Regions from separate parts of the Homo sapiens genome. Here regions 2, 3, 4 and 5 are each linked to region 1. The links are contacts of gene promoters, found by promoter capture Hi-C in blood cells and fetal thymus (Javierre and others, 2016). All regions are on one chromosome and are shown on one strand. Each heading gives the region's core, a stretch centred on a gene start or on the middle of the fragment in contact. The rest is flanking DNA. Distances are from core to core; before and after follow the strand shown.

Region 1 (2,700 bases), core at 35-2,534:
CACAATGTAAAGCACAGAATAAATGCTCAACACACATGAATACTGCCATAAACATTACTTCGCCTTCCTGCAGACCAACTCCGACTCTGCATGAAACAGAAAATCAGAACATTTATTTGGTACTAATCAAATTTCTTTTCATAATCTTTTACGGATAGACAATACCATTGTATCCCCATTTTAAGAGGCAGTCTTTCAGTCTTTTCAAAGCATAACTTTGAAGCCAGAATTGCCTCGGTTAGATTTCTTCTTATTATTATTATGATGATTTGAGACGGAGTCTCGCTCTTGTTGCCCAGGCTGGAATGCAATGGCACTAACTCCGCTCACCCGAACTCGGCTTACAGCAACCTCCGCCTCCCGGGTTCGAGCGATTCTCCTGCCTCAGCCTCCGAAGTAGCTAGGATTACAGGCATGCACCACCACGCCCGGCTAATTTTGTATTTTTAGTAGAGACGGGGTTTCTTCATGTTGGTCAGGCTGGTCTGGAACTCCTGACCTCAGGTGATCTGCCCGCCTCGGCCTCCCAAAGTGCTGGGATTACAGGCATGAGCCACGGTGCCCGGCTCTTCTTATACTTATTATTTGCTTGCCTTAGACAAGTAACTTCACCTCTCCAAGCCTGCATTCTAATGCAAAACGAACACCAATACCTATTTTATGAATTATTGTAATAATTAAACGAGGTAATACCATACCTGAAGTATCTTTAATGCAGCAGATGTCAAAAGTGGTAGCCGCAATTATTTTTATTTTGTAAGGGAGGATTAAACACATTTAAATAGGACATCACAGGAGCGGAGCTGGATCCCAGGTCAGCCTGATTCCTAGGCCGGCGTTCCTTATTGATTACAACATAAGGCAAACAAGTCGTCTTTGGAGAGAGAGGTTGGGGAGAGAAGAATGTTTAATTTCTCCATGCCCTTCAATGACATGTATAACCTTCACTGTTGACCATTTGGCCAGATTGTTGAATTATGTTTTGCTCTCTGGCAACTTGGGGTGTGGAACGTACAATAAAAACGCCTTCACACTAATAACCTCCAGGCCTGTCCCCAGGATTCTACAGCATGAGCTTTGTGGGTAAAGAGAGCTCACCAAATTCAGCCTCCAGCAGCACACACAGCTCAGTAGCAGCGCCCCGCCCAGATGTTTATATTTTCCTCCATCGGCCCCGCCCCCCGACCATGAGGGGCTCTAGCCACGCCCCCAAGCTCAAGTTTCTGGGGCCGGACTAGCCCAGCGCGTCTGCCTACCCATAGGGATTCCCTCTCCAGCCAATCCAGTCAGAGCAGCGGAGCTGCCCCGAACAAAGATGGCGCGGGAAGCGTCTGTGAGGGCAGACTGATCCGAGCACCCAAACCCTCGGCGGACAGCGGAGCCAGTGGTAGCCGCACGGCCCTAAAACCATGGAGGAGGGCGGCAGCACTGGCAGTGCTGGCAGTGACAGCAGCACCAGCGGGAGTGGCGGGGCGCAGCAAAGGGAGCTGGAGCGCATGGCTGAGGTCTTGGTCACCGGGGAACAGCTACGGTAAGGCAAGAGACACAGCGGGTGAGCTCACGATGGCACTGCCAACGCGTGCCCGCTGCAGTCCTGCGCGCACGCGCTCCCTGGCTCGTGGCTTGCGACTCGCGTGGGGCGCCGGAACGGCTGCGGGCGCGTGGATGGTCCTCGGTGCGCCCGCGCTTAGCTGCTGCAGCCTCGGTCCCTGAGGACTCGCTCGCCAAGCGGGGCTGCCTGGCAGAAGCCGACGAGCGGGTGGTGCGCGCTGCGCCCTAGCCTGGCTGCTGCAGTCCTGTGCCGGGCAAAGTCCCTGCCACCCACCGCGCTGTCCGTCTTCCCGTGTACCTGGACGCCGCCAGGCCTCCCGGCTGACAGCCTGCGCCTCATCCGCGAAGAGAGCAAGAGGGGTCGCTGTGGGGTCCCGAGGCGACCCCAGCCCCTCTACTCCTTGATAAAAGGAGCAAGACCAACGATAGTCTTCACTAGGTTTTCCTTTTTGCTGACAAGTCTTCCTTCACTCCCCTGAGCCTCGGTGTTTTACATCTGTAAAACAGGGCTGATTCAAGGGCTTTTTGTGAGGTTAAACTGAGAGAGCATTTCTGAAACCCTGCACCTATCAGTTAATTGGCACATCGTCCTCAATCATTTGGGTCCGCAAGGGGGCGTGGAGGCACCTTGTCGGGCTGCCTTGAGGCTGTGCCAACTCCCCGGGCTCGCACGTTTTGGGCAGCAGGATCCATGGGGACCCTGGCTCCTGCAAGAATTAAGACTTGCGGCGTCTCACGGAACTTGGGAACAAGGACGACCCCCAGAATCCCCCTTGCCATTCCCATCCCTGTATGGTCCTTCCTCTAGGGCTGTTTGGGAATAGTACTTATGGTCTAACTGGTTCTGCAGCTGCCCTTCGTGTGGTTATAAATCAGTTTGCCAGGAAAAAGAAAACCCAGCTCTGCAGCGTTTGAGCCACAACTTGTACGCGGGCCCCTGTTACTTCTAGTTCTTAGCCTGAATTCCCCAGCTTGTTTTGGTTTCTAAATGTCTGTGTTTCAGGACCTGAAAGAGTGTCTTGCAAAGGTCTCTGAAGGAGACCAATATTGGAAGTCAGAATTAACTGATTTTTAATGTTACAAAAGGCAAATTGCACCTATCGATTCTTTGTTGATTTTTAAAAATACGTGGTCAGAATTAAAGGGAAT
Region 2 (2,700 bases), core at 175-2,674, 1.1 Mb after region 1:
TGTAATGATTTCAGTGATGATTTTGGAGAGGAGGATGTGGGAAGAGATTGGGCTAAAAGTGCTCTGAGATGAGGCCTTAGCTTGAGATGCTCATTTTAAAATAACGTGATTGGGGTGTATTTTCCCTCGGAATTAATCTTTTCCCTTAAAAACATTGGGTGGATAAAAAGGGAAAATTAATGAAAGTTTTTGGTTATTGTCCTAAGGCTTCCTCCAAATCTCACTTAATTTCTTCTCTAAAAAGTATGTAAAATGGTTTTTACTGACCCAAAGCTGTGCTGCTTTGTTTGGTTTGGTATATATAATTGTTCACTGGTCTGTAGGATAAGAAGGAAGAAGAGGGAAGTCACTGTTAAGAGGCACAGTAGAGAATGGATTGTTCTCTATCCTTCAAAGGGAGTTTTGGTGAATTTATTAGGGGAGCACCAGGGTTCAGAGCACGCTGTGATAGAATTGACATGTTGTGATTTACCAGACACTGAGAAGATCCCTCTGCCCAAAATAGACACACCTGCTTGTGGATGTCTGGCAGGCCTTTAGCTGGGGACAAAGCCAGAATGGCCAGCTGTTCCCTCAGACACCCTCCCCACAGGCTGGCTCAGGCCTGAAATTCCAGCCTTGAACTTAAGGCTAAATTTTTCTCCACAATCTACTGCAAAGCACATACTTACTTCTCCCTCCTCCAACTCTAAAATAAAGGTGTCAACAGACATTTTCAATGTAGTATGAATTACATGGACTTGTGCAAATAACAGAAATTATGGAAGCAGGGGAATTCTTCTTTCCCCTTCTCCCTGCTTAATTCTAAGACTTTGGTCAAGTCTTTAACTGCTTATATACCAGTTTCCTCCTTTTAACATGAGAATAGTAAGCCAAACTGACAAAACTCTAGGGAGGACTAAATAACACAAACGTAGAAGACCACCTAGCAAAAGGCCAGAAACCCAAATGTCTATCAAAGGGACATTAGGTAAATAAATTGGGATATTTACACAATGTCATATAATGTATCCCTGAAAAGAAACATATCTGTATGTCCTGAAATACAGTAATGTCCAGGACATATTGTTAAGCAAAATAAGCAAAATGCATAGCTGTATTTATAGTATACTACAGTGTAGATAGGAAAGGAGAAGAAATAAGAAATACATATTTGTTTATGATTGCAATATCAAGATAAAACAAAAATCAATAAAAAATGCTTACCTATAGTTGGATGGAGGAAGCAGGTGAGTAGGGGATACAGAAGAGTTATGCTTCTCCACATACTTTATTTTATTTTTTGACTTTGAAATTATGTAAATGTTTTACATGATTAAAAACAAAAGAGAAAACCACATCAAAATATAACAATTTCTAAAAATTTAAAACTGAAAACGAAGAACTTAGGCATACATCAATTCTGTGGCATAATGATCTCAAGACTTATTTTAAGTGACTTTAGAACACATATTTTGATTGTACGTCCTTAGGGAGATATATCCTAAGGACAAAAAGAAGTACAAAGACATCTTAGATTGAATTTTGTTGGCTAGTTTTTAGTGGTGATATTTACATTCTTATTGAGTTTATTATATCTAAAATAGGATAAAGCAATTAAACAATTAAATTATCCTTAGGAGATAAAATTTTCAGAGCAAGAAAAGATGAACTTAAAAAAATCGTTAAAAACTCTGTAGTCCTTATTTTGAATTAGAAATATTGGTATGAATTTATAGTTTATTTTTCTTTTTCTTAAAACTACAATTTTCTCAGTCATGTCTACTGACAAGGCCTAGAACTGTGATCAGTTCAGTAGCAATAATCACTCCAAGTACCCAGAATTTGATATCTACATGCCATTTCCATGTTAAAGGAACCAGGTCTCCTTGGAGAAATGGCTGATTCTAGCATGAGCAGGAAGTATTTGAGATGAGCCTGAGATATGCTGTTATGCCCCAATGCATAAAATATATGAGGCAGCTTAAGGAGCTGATATGGTTTGGCTGTGTCCCCACCCAAATTCATCTTGAATTGTAGCTCCCATAGTTCCCACATGTTGTCGGAGGGACTGGGTGGGAGATAATTGAATCATAGAGGCAGTTTCCCCCATACTGTTCTCATGGTACTGACTAAGTCTTACGAGATCTGATGGTTTCGTAAGGGGTTTCTCCTTTCACTTGGCTCTCATTTCTCTCTTGCCTGCTGCAATTTAAGATGTGCCTTTGCTCTTCCTTTGCCTTCTGCCATGATGATGAGGCCTCCCCAGCCATGCTGAACTGTGAGTCAATTAAACCTCTTTCTTTTATGAATTACCCAGTTTTAGGTATGTCTTTATTAGTAGTGTGAGAATGGACTAATACAAGAGCTCCCACTGGGAAAACTTGCGAATAATTTAAAAGCAAATAGTGACTACAATGTTTTGAAACATGTTAAATATGCAAAATCCACAAGTTCATTTGAAGGTTGTGTGGGCACTAACTCACTATTCTGAAAAAAGACAAAAGGAAAGAATCAGGCATTAATCTGGCTTTTGTTGTTGTTTTCAGATAAACGATGAGGAAAAATTGTTCTTTATTAAAGAGTTCCAACTAATAAATACTGGAGGGCTGATAGAATTAGGAAATATCCATTTTGCTAACTGTGATGAAATAATGGATCCAGGAGGTGATCATCAACGGCTGCTAAAACTGTGAAGACTGATGAGAAACTCTGCAATGA
Region 3 (2,700 bases), core at 131-2,630, 1.1 Mb after region 1:
GTCACCATTCTATGGCAAACTTTTGAAGAGAAATGTTGTGTTCCAAAAGCTGCAAGTACATTAAATCTTTGTGTACAAAGCCAAAACCTTTTTCTCTCAGTGGGATGTTTTGTTGTGGGATTCCTGGATAACCCACATTAAGGACTGTCTGTAAAGAGAGAAAATCAAGTGATGGTATCATACAGGCCAAAATAACTGTCTATAGGATGTCTTGGGGTCTTTGGTGGCATCCTGTGGGAGACAGCTCAGTTCTGCTCCTGGGATAACTGGTAGAAGACATTCTTCCAGGCAGCTCTCAGAACTTGGCTTTCAGGCTGCACACAGAACTGGAACAGTACTGGGAAATGGTCAAAACTGTACATTTTAACAAAGCTAAAAGGAGAATTTTGAATGTTTTCACCACAAAGATACATTAAATATTTGTGGTAAGAGATATGCTGATTAGCCTGATTTTATCATCCCACAATGTATACATGTATCAAAATACCACATTGTACTCCATAAATACATGCAATAACTATCTGTCAATTAAACATAAAACAAAGAGTACAAGAAAAAGAGGAAACAAGATCAGGGACAGGGGTGATGTGAGCCCTGATCACACACATACTCTCTCATGTAATTCTCATGAAGGAACTGAACACGCTGCTTAATCCTTCTGGGTTGTGCTTTCTTAGTCTATCTCTTCATAGAGTTGTTTTGAGGATGAAATGATTTGAAACATATACAGCACTTAGGAGCAGTGCTGGGACCATCAGGAGCTCTTATGGTTACCAGTGTTTGTTTAGAAGCATGAGCTTTGTAGTCAGATAAACCTGAGTTTCACTCATGACTTTGGTACTTACTTTCTTGTCTAGAGAGGGCTGAAGATACACAGATATTTCGTCTAGAGAGGGCTGAAGATACACAGATATTTATGCTTCCTGTTCAACAGTAAGGAGTTATACGTGAGAAGTGTCTACCTAGCCAGATTCCACATTTCCCATTTCTTCCTGGAGTTAAGTGTGTACAGGTGACTGCGTTCTAGATTACAGAAACTTTGCACAAGTGATGTGCACCACTTCCAGGCCTGGTTCCTTAACCCTCCCAGATACTCTCCTGCATCCTCTTTCTCCTCTTTATTCTGCTAGAATATCGAAATTGACAGAGCTTCTGGCAGCCAGGTCTCTGCCTTCCTCTTCAACAACCTAGTAGACAAGAAATGAACGTCTATTGTGTTAGTGCCAGTGTGCATTTTTGGGTTTATAGAGCAGTTAGGTATAGCCACACTTAATATATGACCCTGGGCAATTATGTATCATCTGTGAACTTCCATCTGTAAAGTGTGGGTAATGGTACTTATTTTGCAATTTTGTTGTAAGGATTAAATGAAATCAAATATAAAATTTTCAGCTTAATCAGGTTGTTATTTTTATTATTTATATACCACTAACATCTAATAGTTAAAGTGTTAGGAGACATTTGATGGTCCTTTTACATGGCTGCAGTATAAATCCCTTTTCTTTCAGTTATATGACAGAAAAGTTATGTTGTTTTCCCAGAGCTCTGGGAGAACAACAGAGGGGAAGTCTATCTGTCCTCTTTATCATCTATTCCCTTGACAGCTTTACATTGAGATTCTGCTGAGAATCTAAACCCCATAAGGTTTGGGACTGGGTCTTATCTTACATCTCTTCCCCCAGAGTAGCTAGCCTAGTGTCTTGTATATAGCAAGTGATTAACACATGTTTCTTGCATTTTTTTTTATTTTCTAGTATTTATTATTTGCATACTATGTTTCCAGCACTGTGCATGTGCTTAATTTTCTTGCATTATTTTCATACAGAGTATCTCATGTGAAACTCCTACAGTATTATGAGATGAGCAGTACTTTTCTCCACTATAGAGATAAAGTCACATCGCATAGCAGCAACAGGAGAATTAGGATAGGAATCCAGGTAATCTGACTTCAGAGCCACTACAGTTCCTCTTATGGATGAATAATAGTAATCTTTAGCTTACTGAGGACATATCATGTAAGTGCTAAACTCTTTACATGTGTAAACCCATTTAATATTCACTACAGCTGTGTAAAGATGAAATTTGTGTATTAGGTGAAGTTTGTTACATAGATATAAAAAAACTAAAGGATGCCTAACTAAGGCATCCAACCCAGTCTTTGCCGTCTTTGGGGAAAAAATTGATAACAGGAAAAATCTACTCATGAATATTTGATAATTATGAAAAAGAAAATCTGGCTGTGCATACGGTAAAAGAATTATTTAATCCTCACTCATTCCTTCACCATTGAATTAGCACCTACGGTATGTCAGGCACTGAAGGAGGAGCTGAGGTTACAGAGAAGTCAGCCCCTGCCCTCAAGAGCTTTTCTGTCTAGTGGGTGTGGGAGAAACATAAACTTAGTGAACTTAAGACATATTAGAGCAAGAGCCAGCTGAATTCTTGATGCTGGGAACAGTTGGACATAACATGACCAGTTTGTACAGTCAGAAGCAGCCAAGTAGGAGGTAATAATTTTAGTTTTACATAAAATGAATGATTTATGAGTGTTTTCTGTTGGGGGGCAGGGAAGCAAAAGAAATGAGACTTACAAGTATTTGTTGGGTTCATTTATTTTAACATTTCCCATATGCTCAGAAGACAACATAATGAAATATATTTTCTTTGTTAGACACTGAAGAGCTTGGCAGGCCTTCCTAT
Region 4 (2,700 bases), core at 32-2,531, 1.0 Mb after region 1:
AAAAGGGGTACAGGGGAGGCTTTAATTGCAAGGCAGGGTGAAGAAGAGCATCGGCAGGGACTTTTCATGTTTCCATGTTTTTCCAGGGAGGAAACAAGCTCCTCCAGTGGTGGGAGATGGAAGGAGTTGAGAAGGAGCGGAGGGGCATTCTCCACCTTTGGGGGCCTTGGCGTTTTGTCCCATGAGAATGGTTCTGCCACCGTGTGCTTTGAGTTGGGAAACATTTTTAAACTCGGCTTTGTTGGATTGGGTGTGTGATTTGTGAAAGTGGATGATTGTAAGTGTCTGTTAAAGGAGCTGGGTAGCTTGAAAATCTGTAAAATCAGAAGCTGAACCATGAGGTGGGGGCAGAGGATGATGCTTCCATAGTGGTATTTACCTCCTGGACCCACAGGGCCTCTCCCTGCTTTCATGATGTGTGTTTGCTGACCACAGCAGCTGCACTAAGCTGGGCACAGCCTGCAGGCTCCGGGGCCTCCTGGGTTTCATAGTTTAGGGGCATGTGGCAGCATGGTGGGATGCTTTGGTAATGAGTTCACCACTGAGGCCACGTGGCTTTCACCTTAAGACATTGACAGCTGCAGCAGGTTTGAAAAAATGCAGCCACTGGTAGGACTGATCAGATCTTCTCTCTGGAAAACCAGGACAAAGCACTTGCATTACAGAAGGCCTTCGGGGGGATGGGAACCTGAATAAGGCAAGAAGAAGCTTCTCATGATGACAATATGAGGGCTGGGGTGAGAGAGGTTATTTTAATTTAAATATTAAAACAGCTGAGTTTGAGATTGTTTCATTCCCTAAAGGGGTGAAGAAGTAAGTGTACACCTTCATTGTGTTTCATCCTCAGGGTATCCACTGAAACACATATTATCAACATTTTGTGGATAAAGAAATTGAAGCAGGAACAGATTAAGTGACTTTCCCAGGATCATATGGCTGGTAGATAGGTAGACACCAATTTGGCCTGTAAAACAATGATTTTTACCTTACATTGTGTGGCATCTCGTCTCAAGAGAGAAGCATGAACGTACTAGTACAACAAATGTGAGTGTCCAATTTTACCAGCATGAGGTGTATCTACCCCTCTGGGTCATCTGATAACCAGAAGAAGCATGCAGTTTGGCAAGGATATGCCATTATTACTGTGTTTTGTAATAGGCATTATTAGAGCAGAGAAGAATGAACTCTAAGATGTGACATGGGATTGGGCCAATGTGCTAGAAGGCCTTCCTTCCTCTATCCTTGCCTCTTTTTTAAAATGCTTAGGTCACATCTGGGTTAAGCTATGAGGATAAGTAAAGGATCAATTGCTGTTTAGGCAGCAGCTTGCAGGGACTCTAGCTAGCAGCATTGAGAGGCTGTCTCAAAGTTGCTCTAGGAGCTGCCAGCAGTGATGAAATCACACTGGCCATAGTTTCTGAATCTACAATTGGTGAAGTACTATAGGTGGTGACTCTTCAAGTGGCTGCCTCCCCATAAACTCCCTTTTGATTAAAGTAACTGCACATAACTCCTTACCTTAGCATTCTCCAACTCCAGTGCCCACAAGGGTCAGGTAAGTGAGTGAAACTCTTTGACAGGAGCCCGACGTAGGGACTCTGGTGAAGAGCTCAGGTGCTTTTTAATGGCTCATATAGTACTCAGTATCTGTTGACTGTGGCTAGTGTTTCTTGGCTTTCTAATTTTTCAAGGAAAGCTGGAAATCTGAGTTTTTATGTGAAATTTCCCTATTCAAAAATCATTCATGCTTAAACATTAAACTTAAATAAGTACTGTGTGAGCCAATGTTGTGCAAGTCAAACTAAATATATTTGTGGCCAGTTCTAGACTCCTGTTGGCAATAGTCACCTTGCACAAAGCTTGAGTCCTTTATTCAAAGCGCCACTGTGTTGCCTTCAGCAGATTGGAGAAAAAATGGAACTGGAGCAATGGCAACCCTCTTTAGGTTATCCCTGGAGACCTTGAGAAGCATTCTCCTCAATAGGGAAGCCTAAAACCACAGGGCAACTGTTCCAACAAGTCCTTGCTCTTAGGGAACTGGAACAGAAGATACAGAGAGAGTTAAGTCATAGTAATAGAAGTAGAAGCAGAGCCATGGACTCATCAAGAAACATTTAATGGCAGAACATTCCAATTGGATAACTGTTGCCAGGTTAATCACAGGACCAAGTGGCCAGAACTTTTGCTGTGTGTAGTAGATGTTGGTGCTACTGCTGTTTTCTGAATAAACTTCTTTTTCTGTAAGACCTGGCTCCAAGCCTATTAAGTCAGCTTCAGGGTTTATTTTATTTTATTTTTTTTTGTCCCGTTTTATCTTTACAATAAAACTCAGTGACCCAGGTAAATCTGAGTATGTCTGGGAATCTTGTAATTTCAAAGATGCTGGTGAGTGCAGCAATCTGTGGTCTAATACATATATTTGCAGTAAACCCCTTTTTCTTCACTGATGGGCTCCGGTGAACATGTGACCCTGCCCCCTCCTGCTGATTGGATAAGCGTGAGATACCTCAGCCAAGTTGAACAAATCAGACTCTCTACCTTGTGAGTTTGCAATCCTGTTTGTTCATCCATGATAACTGCTTGAGGTAAGAGGTGATGGAAACTCAGGACTTGAGCTGCTGCTTGCGGGATGGCTATTCCCTGTAAAATTTATTAACATCCTTTACAAGGCCTAGCATGATGTGGCTTCTACTTTCTTTT
Region 5 (2,700 bases), core at 22-2,521, 1.1 Mb after region 1:
AAATGGCAGAGCTGGGATTCTGGCTCAGGTATATCTGATTTCAGAGCCCAAGCACCTCGTTTATTAGCTGCTTTTGGTTCTACCTTCTTCCATAGCCACATGACTCACTCCCTTGCTTATTTCATGTCTCTGCTTAGTTTTCACTAATTTATCCACTCTGTAGAAAACAGCAGTCCCCTCCCTCATCCCTACACTTCCTGTCTGCCACACCGCTTTATTTAGCATTATAACATCTTATATCATATGGCACTTTACAATTACTTGCTTCTTGATCATTTGTCTCTCACTGGAACAAAAGCTCCTTAAGGCCAGGGCCCTTGTATTATTCACTGGTGTGTCTCCAGCACCCAAAGTGGTATCTGGCAGCTTCACAAAACAGGTAAGTGATTTGAGTTCACTCTGTCAAAGAACAACATTTGTTTGACTGTAGGAGTAAATTACAATTTGTTTTTATATCATATGTACAGACTGATCTGTGTGGTACAGAGACCAAGCAAATAGTGGTAATCCTTCACAGAACACATTTTATTCATATATTTTAACAAGGATGATGTACAAATATTTATCAATGCAAATTTTTATCTTTATTACACATATTCAAAAATGTCCCAATGAGTTCTGCTGCATTTTCTTTACAAATACATGTTTTGATAATAGCTTTATTTATATATAATTTATTTACCATAGAATTCACCCCTTGAAAGTGAATACTCCAGTGACTTTTACTACATTCATGAGCTTTGCAACCATGGCAGCCATCAATTTTTTTTTTTTTTTTTTTTTTTTTTGAGATGGAGTTTTGTCTTGTCACCCAGGCTGGAATGCAGTGGCGTGATCTCAGCTCACTGCAACCTCCTCCTCCCGGGTTTAAGTGATTCTCCTGCCTCTGTCTCCCGAGTAGCTGGGATTACAGGCACGTGCCACCATGCCCGGCTAAATTTTGTATTTTTAGTAGAGATGGGGTTTCACCACGTTGGCCAGGCTGATCTCGAACTCCTGACCTCAGGTGATCCGCCTGCCTTGGCCTCCCAAGCAGCCATCAATTTTAAGACCTCTTCATCACCCCCAAAAGGGTACACTTCCAAAAGGAAGCCTGTACCAATTAGCCATCATCCCCACCATTTGCTCCCAAACCTCAAGCCTAGGAAATCGTTAATCTAATTTCTTTCTCATGGATTTTCCTATTTAGACATTTGACATAAATGGAATCATGCAACACACACACACACACCGCCATAGTGGTATCTGGGGTATATAACATATACTCTATAAATATTCACATTCAAATAAATACACTAATTAATTGAGATCAGTGAAACAAGTCACAGAAAACTTAAGATTAAGACAGCCTCACTTATAATTTCATTGCCTTTAGATTTATTCTGAATGTTTTCATGTGTGTCTCATATTTGTGATGTTTTGAAGACATTCTATGAGCCATTATTTCCTCTAAGAATTGGGGAACCTGCAGTCCATACATTGGGTCTTGTTCCTCTACTTAATTTCACTTGGTTCATTGGAAAAGTACCAAGAAAGTGATGTTGCTGTTTACAATTGTTGCATAGTTGAGAAGATGGAGTAAGGCATCAGAAGCCTTCAGCTGCAGTATCCTTACCTTCCACAAGATGGTGCTCCTATTCTATAGAAGTCACTGTATTGCTCAGGTTCTGTGATGCTTGTTTTTCTGGGTTTGACTTTTTAATTTCGTTGTGCTTGTCTCTGCCTTTTTCTTAGAATTTTTGGTGTTTCTATCTCTTTCTACTTTTCTTTTTTTCTCTTATATTTAAACCTTTACCTGGGCAGTTTATTATATAGAACAAAGTAGACATCTTTATTGTTTAACAAAATAAGGTTGAGTTTTATGTTCCTTGATGTTATCTTTAAAATCTAATGAATGCACAATAATGTAGACTATATACTTATTTATCTAAGGAAAATCAAATATGTAAAAGTTGTTTCTGAGGTCAGTTATGTGGCTGTTGACTATTCTTTTCTCTCTCTAGATTAATTTTGTAAGTTTTTTTATGGTTTTTAAAAACAGGGTTTTACTGTTGCCCAGGCTGTAGTGCAGTGGCATGATCATGGCTCACTGTAGCTGCAAACGCTGGGGCTCAAGTAATCTTCTTGCCTCAGCGTCCCAAAGTGCTGAGATTACAAGTATGAACCATGGTGCCTAGCCCTATTTTGTAAGATTTTTAGAGTTGTGGCTGGGCGCAGTGGCTCACGCCTATAATCCCAGCATTTTGGGAGGCTGAGGTGGGCAGATCACCTGAGGTCAGGAGTTCAAGACCAGCCTGGCCAAGATGGTGAAAACCCATCTCTACTAAAAATACAAAAATTAGCTGGGCATGGTGGTGGGCGCCTGTAATCCCAGCTACTCAGGGGGCTGAGGCAAGGAATTGCTTGATTCCAGCCTGGGAGGCAGAGCAAGACTCCGTCTCAACGAAAAACGAAACAAAACAAAAGACTTGTGAGGCTTGGAGGTATTGAATTGTTTTTGAGGTCATTCATGTGGCTAATGACTATTTTTCCCTCTTTTAAGGTTAATTTTGTAAGACTTACAGAAGTTTTAAAGCTTGGAGATATGAAGTGATTTGTCACAAATAGTACAGGTTGCTGGAAGAACCAGGAATTAAATTTACATCAGTTTGCTTTAAGTCTACCTCACGTTTACTCTGCCTTGCTGACATCCTGCTCCTT

The links. Contacts are between HindIII fragments. The CHiCAGO score rates a contact against its expected background, and 5 or more counts as called.
Region 2: a fragment that was not itself captured here is called in contact with the fragment with the promoter of DEPTOR in region 1 in 8 of 17 cell types (naive B cells, total B cells, naive CD8 T cells and 5 more); the score reaches 16.0 in naive B cells.
Region 3: a fragment that was not itself captured here is called in contact with the fragment with the promoter of DEPTOR in region 1 in 3 of 17 cell types (naive B cells, total B cells and non-activated CD4 T cells); the score reaches 7.8 in naive B cells.
Region 4: a fragment that was not itself captured here is called in contact with the fragment with the promoter of DEPTOR in region 1 in 4 of 17 cell types (total B cells, fetal thymus, naive B cells and 1 more); the score reaches 8.5 in total B cells.
Region 5: a contact is called between a fragment that was not itself captured here and the fragment with the promoter of DEPTOR in region 1, in 9 of 17 cell types (naive B cells, total B cells, naive CD4 T cells and 6 more). The highest score is 18.4, in naive B cells.

Annotation. Positions count from the first base shown.
Region 1 is chr8:119,872,438-119,875,137 of GRCh38, forward strand. It overlaps DEPTOR (DEP domain containing MTOR interacting protein), which reads left to right and starts at 1,285. Exons shown (of 9, transcript NM_022783.4): 1 at 1,285-1,531. The coding sequence starts at 1,410. RefSeq lists enhancers at 1,112-1,406, 1,147-1,647, 1,323-1,582, 1,648-2,148, 1,783-1,882 and 1 more and a silencer at 1,131-1,303. The HindIII fragment of the contact is 2,864 bases long and covers 1-2,700 here.
Region 2 is chr8:120,933,304-120,936,003 of GRCh38, forward strand. No RefSeq gene overlaps it. Among named protein-coding and RNA genes, the nearest start is that of SNTB1, 120 kb to the left of the region's middle. The HindIII fragment of the contact is 3,249 bases long and covers 1-2,700 here.
Region 3 is chr8:120,965,889-120,968,588 of GRCh38, forward strand. No RefSeq gene overlaps it. Among named protein-coding and RNA genes, the nearest start is that of SNTB1, 160 kb to the left of the region's middle. The HindIII fragment of the contact is 3,155 bases long and covers 1-2,700 here.
Region 4 is chr8:120,913,911-120,916,610 of GRCh38, forward strand. No RefSeq gene overlaps it. Among named protein-coding and RNA genes, the nearest start is that of SNTB1, 100 kb to the left of the region's middle. The HindIII fragment of the contact is 1,151 bases long and covers 707-1,857 here.
Region 5 is chr8:120,949,750-120,952,449 of GRCh38, forward strand. No RefSeq gene overlaps it. Among named protein-coding and RNA genes, the nearest start is that of SNTB1, 140 kb to the left of the region's middle. The HindIII fragment of the contact is 2,603 bases long and covers 1-2,573 here.